Regions from separate parts of the Homo sapiens genome. Here region 1 is linked to region 2. The links are contacts of gene promoters, found by promoter capture Hi-C in blood cells and fetal thymus (Javierre and others, 2016). All regions are on one chromosome and are shown on one strand. Each heading gives the region's core, a stretch centred on a gene start or on the middle of the fragment in contact. The rest is flanking DNA. Distances are from core to core; before and after follow the strand shown. Region 1 holds the start of VWA8 (von Willebrand factor A domain containing 8). Region 2 holds the start of SUGT1 (SGT1 assembly cochaperone of MIS12 kinetochore complex).

The links. The method cuts DNA at HindIII sites, captures the fragments that hold promoters and counts their contacts. A CHiCAGO score of 5 or more calls a contact.
Region 1: the fragment with the promoter of VWA8 here is called in contact with the fragment with the promoter of SUGT1 in region 2 in 1 of 17 cell types (total B cells); the score reaches 6.1 in total B cells.

What each region holds. Positions count from the first base shown.
Region 1 is chr13:41,959,683-41,964,274 of GRCh38, forward strand. It overlaps VWA8 (von Willebrand factor A domain containing 8), which reads right to left and starts at 1,427. Exons shown (of 45, transcript NM_015058.2): 1 at 1,171-1,427. The coding sequence starts at 1,333. It overlaps VWA8-AS1 (VWA8 antisense RNA 1), which reads left to right and starts at 1,487. Exons shown (of 4, transcript NR_039974.1): 1 at 1,487-2,552. RefSeq lists enhancers at 1-160, 161-661, 757-896 and a silencer at 1,097-1,506. The HindIII fragment of the contact is 5,183 bases long and covers 1-1,939 here.
Region 2 is chr13:52,649,455-52,654,220 of GRCh38, forward strand. SUGT1 (SGT1 assembly cochaperone of MIS12 kinetochore complex) reads left to right here and starts at 3,382. Exons shown (of 13, transcript NM_006704.5): 1 at 3,382-3,504; 2 at 3,592-3,649. The coding sequence starts at 3,467. It overlaps SUGT1-DT (SUGT1 divergent transcript), which reads right to left and starts at 2,853. Exons shown (of 1, transcript NR_170300.1): 1 at 1,851-2,853. RefSeq lists enhancers at 2,683-3,022, 3,132-3,633, 3,743-3,862 and a silencer at 3,113-3,382. The HindIII fragment of the contact is 4,517 bases long and covers 914-4,766 here.

The DNA of each region.
Region 1 (4,592 bases), core at 177-2,676, about 11 Mb before region 2:
GCTCCGCCTCCCGGGTTCACGCCATTCTTCTGCCTCAGCCTCCGGAGTAGCTGGGATTACTGGCGCCCGCCACCACGCCCGGCTAATTTTTCTGTATTTTCTTTTTAGTAGACACGGGGGTTTCACCGTGTTAGCCAGGATGGTCTCGATCTCCTGACCCCGTGATCCGCCCGCCTCAGCCTCCCAAAGTGCTGGGATTACAGGCGTGAGCCACCGCGCCCGGCCCATATGCTCATTTCTTAGCAAGGAAAACTGGGGGTTGCGGGGAAAATGCAAGAGGACAACGAAACCTACAATTTCATAGTGAAAACCTGTTATTCCAAGCAGCACTGACATTGACAAAATCTTGTCTGGAATCACTTCACCATTCAAGGGTAGCAACAACAGATATCCTTTCCTTAACCATCACAGTAACTCTAACTCCACCAACACACAAGAAAAAGAATTCCTAAAACCAGCTCAAGTAGAGCCAAAAAATACTGAGCTTAGAAATCAAAGCATGTGATTCTAGCATAGTAATTAGTTGTGTGTTCTCCAGCGAATCACTTTTCCCTTCTGGGTTTCAATTACCTCATTTGTAGAGGCAAGTGTTTTAACTAAATTAAGGTGTAACTGTCAGCTCTAAGAATTACGTGAAACTTTAAGGAAAACTCCTGTAAAACTTGGAAAGGCTCGGGGATGCATTTAAAACACCGTGAACTATGGGTTCTTTGGCAAGAATGTTCCCTTCTAAGCCGCCACAAGCCCTGGCTAGAACATGACACAGACCGGCTTCCAGGCCCTTGAGGCTCAGAGAGCAAGGTCAAATCCAGCTTTCAATAATTCCATAGGGCTGAGGCATTAACCTCTACGAGTATTATAACCTAAGTCAGAATTCTGGGGGTAAAGGCAGCGGCAGGGGAAGGAGAAATCACTCTTCTAGGTCATCAGAAACCTTAGTCCAGACCCCTCGGGTTGCAGAATCAGGCACAGAGAGGGCGAGCGCCTTGCCCCCACGTTACACAGCAGTTAGCGCCGAGGTCGGGACTAGAACCTCAATCTTTCAGCTCCCCGCTCGGCAAACGGTCCTTCCAAGCGCAGCGAAGCAACAGAGAGGAGGGGCGGGGGCGCGCGGGGACCCGGCACGGAGCGCAGGGGCACCAGGGAGGACAGGGGCGCACCCCGAGTTACCTGTGTCGGCCCCCGAGCCGGCGTGCAACAGTCTGACCTCCGGCCGCTGCCTGTCGCCACCCGGCCTGCGCTGCACCACCTGCCGCAGGAGCAGCCGCATGCGCCGCGAGGCCGGGCCGCCGTGGCCTCCGGGTGCCCCGAGGAGTAGAAGCCGGGATTGCATGGCGCCGGGGGGGCTGTCGGGGACGGCGAGGGGGCTCGGGGATCGAGCGGCGTCCCGTGCAGGCACCGTGAGGCAGCGCGGAGAAGGGGACAGGAAGCGGCACCTAGCCGAGTCCGCCGGAAACTCCTTCCCCCGCGGCGCGGCCGGCTCAGTAGACTCAGCCCGGCCCTACCCGGCCCTGCATGGCCCAGACGGGCGGAAAGAGCCTGCGGAGCTCCAGCCCAAAGAGCCGGCACCGTCCCGGGACTGCCCGCACCGCGGGGGTGCTCCGAGCTGCGGCGCTGGGCTCTGGCAAGCGCCTCGCAGTCCGTGAGACTGTCTGTTCACCTGGATGCACCAGGCCTTCACCCGCCGTTTCCCTGCGATCCCACAGAATCTCAGGAGTTCAGTAAATGCCAAGGGTTTTAGGAGCATTTGTCGGTGTGACTCTTCAGATGCTTGCCCCAAGTCTTCGTTTCTTAGTTAAAGGCCCAGTAAGTATAGGGAGCTTTCCCTGTATTCGGCTTCAGATTTCGGAAATGGAGAAAACATGCACAAGATGATGGGAACTTTCACAACTGTCTTGATTCATTGTAACCACACTAGTGTTTCCAAACCGTACGTGAAAGCTTTACCCTTTGTCCTTTTGGTGGTGGTTGTTTGTTTCTGTGTTTTATTACCGCTTCCTAAATTCTAAGGAAAAAATTCACATCTTAGTGATAGATGGAAATTGCTTAAATATCAGAAAGGATCCAGATCAAGCACTTTTCTAGTCATGCTGTAATACAAAAGTTATATAAAGATGATTTATGTCTTTAGTAAAGGAAAAAGTAGGACACTGGCTAAGGCTGCCTCCCTCTTGTACATTCCAACATCGGAAATGGTCCTACCACAAAGCAAACTAAGCCTAATGTAATTAGACTGCATCCCCAAAATGTCACAGTGAATTGACTAAGGCAAAATATTTGAGACAAGTTATACAAGCAAACATCAAAAAGAAGGCAGAAGACCTCACTTTCAGCTAAAGACCTTGCTAATTCTAGAGCTGCCACTGTCTAAATACATAGCACCTACCCTGCGCCTGACCCTGTGATGAGTGCTGAGAAGAGAGTGTTAGAGTGGAGACTGTAAAAGTCAAACAAGGCTAGGTAAGGAAGGCTTTGGGCATCCAGCGGAAGAACTTGAGGAATGAAGGCTGAACCAGGCTTCTAACCTAGATGAGGAGACAGTGAAAATAAAGGTAATAAGTAGTTACACAATATATTATGACTTCGTTTCATGTGTATCTTCTCATTTAATCCTCATAGCAACCCTAAGACATAAATTTAGGATGTAAGCTTATAAAATGCTTTTCCTACTTTGAGCACATTGTATGTATCAAGATTTTAATGAATTATCCCATTTCACATAAAAATGCTTTGAGGTACTATTATTATCCTCCGTTTTACAGATGAAGAAACTGAGGCTAGAAGAATTGAATACCTTGGTCAAGATATCTCCATTTAATCTCGCTGGAACTCAGTAGACACCTGAAAGAATGGGAGAACAACCTAAGGCAATTTTGCAAAGTGGTTGATATAAGCACTAAGAGCTCTTGGAGTTAAGACAATGGAGAGATCAACACAAGTTAGAGCATTCAACAACATTTTTTGCCTAGTTTTATTTTTTTTAGAGACAAAGTCTCACTCTGTTGCCCAGGCTGGGGTGCAGCGGCAGTATTATAGCTCATTGCAACCTCGAACTCCTGGGCTCGAGTGATCCTCCTGCTTCAGCCTCCCTAGTAGCTGAGACTACAGGCGTGCACCACTGTGCCTGGCTAATTTTTGTGTTTTTGTTTTCGTAGCAGTGGAGTCTTGTTATGTTGCCCAGGCTGGTCTCAAGCTCCTGGCCTCAAGTGATCCTCCTGCCTCAGCCTCCCAACGACAACATTTATTGAGTAACTGCTGTATAAACAGTACCCTGCTAGATACTGTGAATCAATGGGCTCACATTAGGTATTGATGATAAATATGCAAATAAAGAATTGCAATACAGTGAGACACGTGTCAAGAGATTTAGGTTCAACATACTGTGGAGTGGATTGCTGCACCTGGAGTCTTCACAGAGAAGGTAGTGTTTGAAATGATTCATGTAGGATATATTATACAAGAGTTTGTCAGGCTGAGACAAGTCAAATCTGGCAGACAGATCATGTACAGAGAGAGAGAGAAAGAAACAGCTGAAAGTGCAGGGCATGATTGAGAACCAGAGAGTGATTCAGTGTGTCTAGAGGTCAAGTATATACAACAGTTTGTAAGAATAAGACCAGAAAGAGAATCTGGGGCCATGTTGTATGCCAAGAGAAGGAGTTTGCACATTAACCTCCAGGAAATGGAAAAATGGTGAAGGTTTTTTAGAGTGACAAAGCTACAATGGGGAGGAAAACTTTGAGCCTGAGAAAAGGCAGCACCTGAGCTTAACTTTGAATGCCATTTAGGACTGGATACACAGAGAAGCGGGGTATAGAGCCTAAGTAGAGGCTTGGAGTCCTGACAGAGTTCAGTTACAGGGGCCATGAGACCAGCCAGATGAGGAGGTTAATCTTTCGAAAGTAGTAGAAGGTGTTGGCAGAGCAGGAGGAGAAGGTTACAGAGTGAAGAATCTTGAGTAGCTGGATGAAGTTGGACTTCATCCGATGAGCAAACTGGGCAGCTACTGGACTTTTTGATCGTGTTTTAGGTGGTGACATACTATGAATTGAATTAGGAAGACAGGAAGCATCAAGTGCTAGCTACGTGGCAGTAAAAATAGTCTCTACTTGAAATGATGAACAGTGCTGATGGCAATGAGACTGAATGGGAAAGAATGGACCTTCACAATGTTTTTAAAGAAGAACCAAAGGTGTTTTGTTTTAAAAGATGTTCATCACAATCTGTGTAAAGTCTCTCAAACTCTCACTAAAATATCTGATCACATGCTTATTAAAAAACAAGCTACCAGCCGGGCACAGTGGCTCAAACCTATAATCCCAGCACTTTGGGAGGCTGAGATGGGTGGATCACCTGAGGTCAGGAGTTGAGACCAGCCTGGCCAACATGGCAATACCCCATCTCTACTAAAAATACAAAAATTAGCCAGGCGTGATGGTGGGTGCCTGTAATCCCAGCTACTCGGGAGGCAGGGGCAGGAGAATCGCTTGAACCCGGGAAGCAGAGGTTGCAGTGAGCTGAGATCGCACCAGTGCATTCCAGCCCGGGCAACAGAGTGAGACTCTGTCTCAAAAAAAAAAAAAAAAAGAAAA
Region 2 (4,766 bases), core at 2,132-4,631:
TCAGCCTCCCAAGTAGCTGAGGCACGCGCCACCATGCTTGGCTAATGTTTTTTATTTATTTATTTTTTGTAGAGACGAGGTCTCACCATCTTGCCCAGGCTGGTCTTGAACTCCTGGGCTCAAGTGATTTTTCTGCCTTGGCTTCCCAAAGTGTTGGGATTACAGGCGTGAGCCACTGCACCCAGCCTGCACAAATCTTGTGCATAACTTGATAAAATTTTATGTTTGAATACACTGCTGTGATTACCAGCCAGATCAAGATATGTAACATTTCCCGCATCCGAGATTTCTTCATGCTCCTGTTCCCCACCCTCCCTGACAACCAGGAGGTTCCCTTATGATACCTCTCATCTAAGTGGAATCAATCATGATGTACTCCGTCTGGCTTTTTTTTTTTTTTACCACAACTTATGTATATAAGCTTCATCCATATCGTTGTGTGTAGTAGTCGTTCATTCCTATTGCTATGTAATATTTTTTTCTCCTATTTAAGGACATTTAGATTATTTCCAGTTTTTGCTACCTTGGGTAATGCTGCAATGAATATTCTTCTACATGATCATAAATAATAAATACTCTTGGGTATATGCCCAGTGGTAGAATTATTGGGTTATGGTCTGTGTATAACTAGCTTTAGTAGATAGTGTCTGATATAGTTTGGATATGTGTCCCCACCCAAATCACATGTCAAATTGCAATCCCCAATGTCGGAGGTGGGGCCTGGTGGGAGGTAACTGGATCATAGGGGTGGGTTTCTCATGAATGGTTAAGTACCACCTCTCTTGGTACTGTCCTTGCAACAGTGAATTCTTGTGAGATCTGGTTGTTTAAAAATGTGTAGCACCTACCCCCACCCTACTTGCTCCTGCCATGTAAGATGGCTGCTCTACCTTTGCCTTGTGCGGTGATTGGAAGCTTCCTGAGGCCTCTGCAAAAGTAGAAACTGCTATGCTTCTCGTACAGTCTGCAAAACCATGAGTGAATTAAACATTTTTTCTTTATAAATTACCTAGTCTCATTTATAGCAATGCAAGAACAGACATACGGTACCACAGTTTTCCAAAATGATTAAACTCTCACCAACAATATATGAAAGATACAGTTGCTACATATCCTTGTCAGTGCTTGGTATTGGAAGTCCTTTTAATTTAAGCCATTCTGGTGGTAGTTTTGGTATCTCATTGATTTCAATGTCCATAATATATAGAACTTCTTTTCATGTTGGGCCCATAGGGCGGTCTTGGAATTCACCCTTTCAGAGGCCATACATATATGTGTATTGGTGCATGGCAGAGGCTGGTGTACACACATTAGTGTATGGCTGAGCCATAACCGGAGCATACCTGAGACTAACCCTATGGTCTAAGAAGAACTTACGTTTGGAGTCCTGGGCTAAGGAATCCAGGAGCAGCCAACCCAGAGATTCACTCCTTATCTATGAAGGACATCCACATCCCTGGCCCGTATCTTACGCTGTACAGATCAAGGCCCTTTGGGGTTAAATGGAGGTTGCTAGAAGGAGAGTGCTAAGTGAAAATGCTATATAGACTACGTGCTTTTTACAAATGGTAGCAGTTCTCCAGGTCAGCCCTCCACCACCGGACCACCCTTGTATGTAAATCCTGAATAAACCTTGTCTCCTTCACTGACTCTGCCTCTCTTCTTACAGTGCCATCCCAACTGGAGTCAGTGGGGTCCAGAAGGACAATTGGCCATTTAGATAACATTTGAAAACTAACCAAGGTAATTCACAGTAACATTAAAAAATACAAATGAACATTTCAATAAAGGCAGAAAAAGCAGTTGATATTCAATGCTTTCCTCCTGATGTTATGACCAAGACAAGGAAGTCCATTATCACTGTTTTTATTCAATAGTGGAAACACTAGCCAGCAACAAAAGGCAAAAATAAATAAAAATAAAAGGTATAAAGGTTACAGAGAAGTTAAACCATCTTTATTCGTGGATTGCAAGATTTTGATCACAGAAATTCCGAAAGAATCTACAGAGTATTACAAATAACAAGGGAACTTAGCAAGATGCTTGCATATAAGGTCAGTATGTTAAAATCAATATTGTTTATTCTTACGAGTAGAATATAAAAAAGTCAAAATGCCATTTAACATTGTATACAAAACACTAAATACTCAAGAATAAATCTAATGAAAGATATATATGATCTCTATACTGCAATCTATCCAAGCACAGCTGCATTAAAATATAGATATATGTGCAATCTACAAAATATTGCCAGGAGAAATTAAAGACCGCTTAAATAAATGGTGGGGGAAGAATGATATTCATGGATTGAAGGACTTGTTGTTAAGATACTAGTTTTCCCAAACAGATCTATAGATTCAATGCGAGCCCAATAAAAAATCCCCCCCCTTTTTAACAAGCTAATTCCAAAATTCACCTAGAAATACAAAGGCCGTAGAATAAGCCAAAACAATCTTGGGAGAATAAGTTACAGGACTTAAAGATTTATTATAAAACTACATTAAATTAACATAGTTTGGTACTGGTATAAAGTTAGACAAAGACTACTCCCTCCCGCTCCTCAATCTGCCCCCATCCCTAGAACGTGCTGGCAGCTTTCTCCATCCGATCTGCAAGGGTTAAAGGGCGCTGAGGAAGGGCTGACCGACTGGGGTGGGAAACAAAGCGGCACTGAGATAACTTCAGGCCACCTTCCTCCCCTCAGTACCTTCGGATGAAAGGTTTCCCTTCTTGGTCTGGGAAGCCCACTAAGAAGAAAGCCTGGGCTGTGGCGTTCTGGGGAAGTGAATAGTACGGCCGCCGGGCGCGTCGCCCCAGGAACCAGAAGGCTTTTTGCCGCTATTAGTGCAGAATGACTTCCGGCAAGTCCCAGTCGTTTAGAATCCCCAGCCCAAAGATCGCGGGGATCCACGCGTCATCCGGGCCTCTGCTCCCGGAAGAGACCACGCAGCCGCTAAAGACGTAATGGAGGCGAAAGGGCTTGGCTAGCTGTGGCAGCCATGATAAAAACTAGGGAAAATGGGAGCTCGAAGTAGCTTCCGTTATTAACAGACATACAAACGCCCCTAACCGCCACACGTTCCTTAGGGATGACAGTACGTTACAAAAGTGCTTCTAAAGTACTACTGAAAGCTCCGTGGGAGTGCCCGCTGGCGTGGGCGCGGTGGAAGGGAGGAAGAACGTGTACGCCCCAGGCCTCCGTAACCATGGCTGCGAGGGGCGGGGACTGGGAGCGCGGGTCCTGGGCCGGGGTGCGGCTGGGAGGAATCGGTCCTCCACTGTCCCAGCCGGCCCCGCGCCGGCGTGTCGCCTCCCGTCCCCCTAGCAGCACGCTGCGTGGCTGCTCGCTGGCTATTTAGGACGGAAGCTCGGTTGGTGTTTCTCCAGAAGTTTCCCCCTTGGGCGGTGGTGGAGGTGGTAACCGTGATAGTAGCAGCTCCGGCGGCAGCAACAGCGACTACGAGGGATGGCGGCGGCTGCAGCAGGAACTGCAACATCCCAGAGGTGCATGTTTTTCTTTCCCTTTGGTATTTATTTTATCCCCCTTTCCTTGGCTAGTGAGCCCTGCTGAAGTCGTTGTTTTCCTGACAGGTTTTTCCAGAGCTTCTCGGATGCCCTAATCGACGAGGACCCCCAGGCGGCGTTAGAGGTGAGAGAGCCCATTTCTGCTTCCTCCACTCTTCTTAGGGGAGCTGGGCCACTTCGGGTCCCCGCTGACCCGCCTTCTCCCCGCACCGCCGGACAGGGACCCAGGCTCTTGTTGATGCTGCGTCTCAGCTCCGGTATTGAGATTCTCCGTCTCTTTTCTCTGTTACACGGTAGCCGCGTTACCCCAGACTCCTGTCTTGCCCTTTCCACTCCCTACAGCTCCTGAGAAAAACCTCCTCTATTTCTTGGGAGCATGGTTGGCATTTGTAGTTTGGCTGAAAGGATTTTTTTTTTAATGACATTTATGATTAGAGAAGTGGACTCTGGGCTCGATGAAGTTAATTTTTTCGTTTGACAATAATTCTTGCCATTCTTACGTAAAAGTGTCGGTATGAAGTCAGTCTACTGGAGCAAAACCCTTTTCCCTCACGTCCCTGAAACTTTCCAGATGTCTTATCACAATTCATTATTCACTCATTTGTATATTCATCAAAATTTTTTTTTGGAGTGGCTGTGTGCAAAGGCGCTGATTGCTGTGGGTTAAAGTCTTGGTTATATACTCAGCTAACCTAGAAATCACTTTTTGTAGGTGTGCAATGAAGGCAAACCATAAAGCTGTAAAGGAATGTAAAAGATCAAGAGTTAAATAATAAGAATTAAAGGAGAACCTAAAGATAAATGATGCTGCGGGTCACAGAATTTAGCCAGGAGTTTTTGTTTGTTTTTGCGTTAAATCACAGAAAAGAGGAAACCTGTTTTGCTGTTACGTTTAACAATTTGAGGCAAGACAGCGTCTTTTCTAGCTATGACTTTTATAAGAAATGTGCCACATGGTACTAGAGCCTCCGTTGAGGAGATCTTTGAGTGGAGATTTGAAGGAACAAGGGAATTAACTTGGAAGCTCTGGGGAAAGAATATTCCAGGCAGGACCAAGAGCCAGTGCAGATCTTGAGGTAGGAATGAAGTTGGCCTGTATGTGAAGCAACAAAAAGGCCCTTTTTATTAGAGGGCCCATTTGATTAAGAGAGGTTGGACAGGAAACTAGGAGCCAGGTCCTATAAGGCCTTTTAGGGTCCAGGTGTGTTTTTTACACCTAAATATATAGACCTTTAGATACT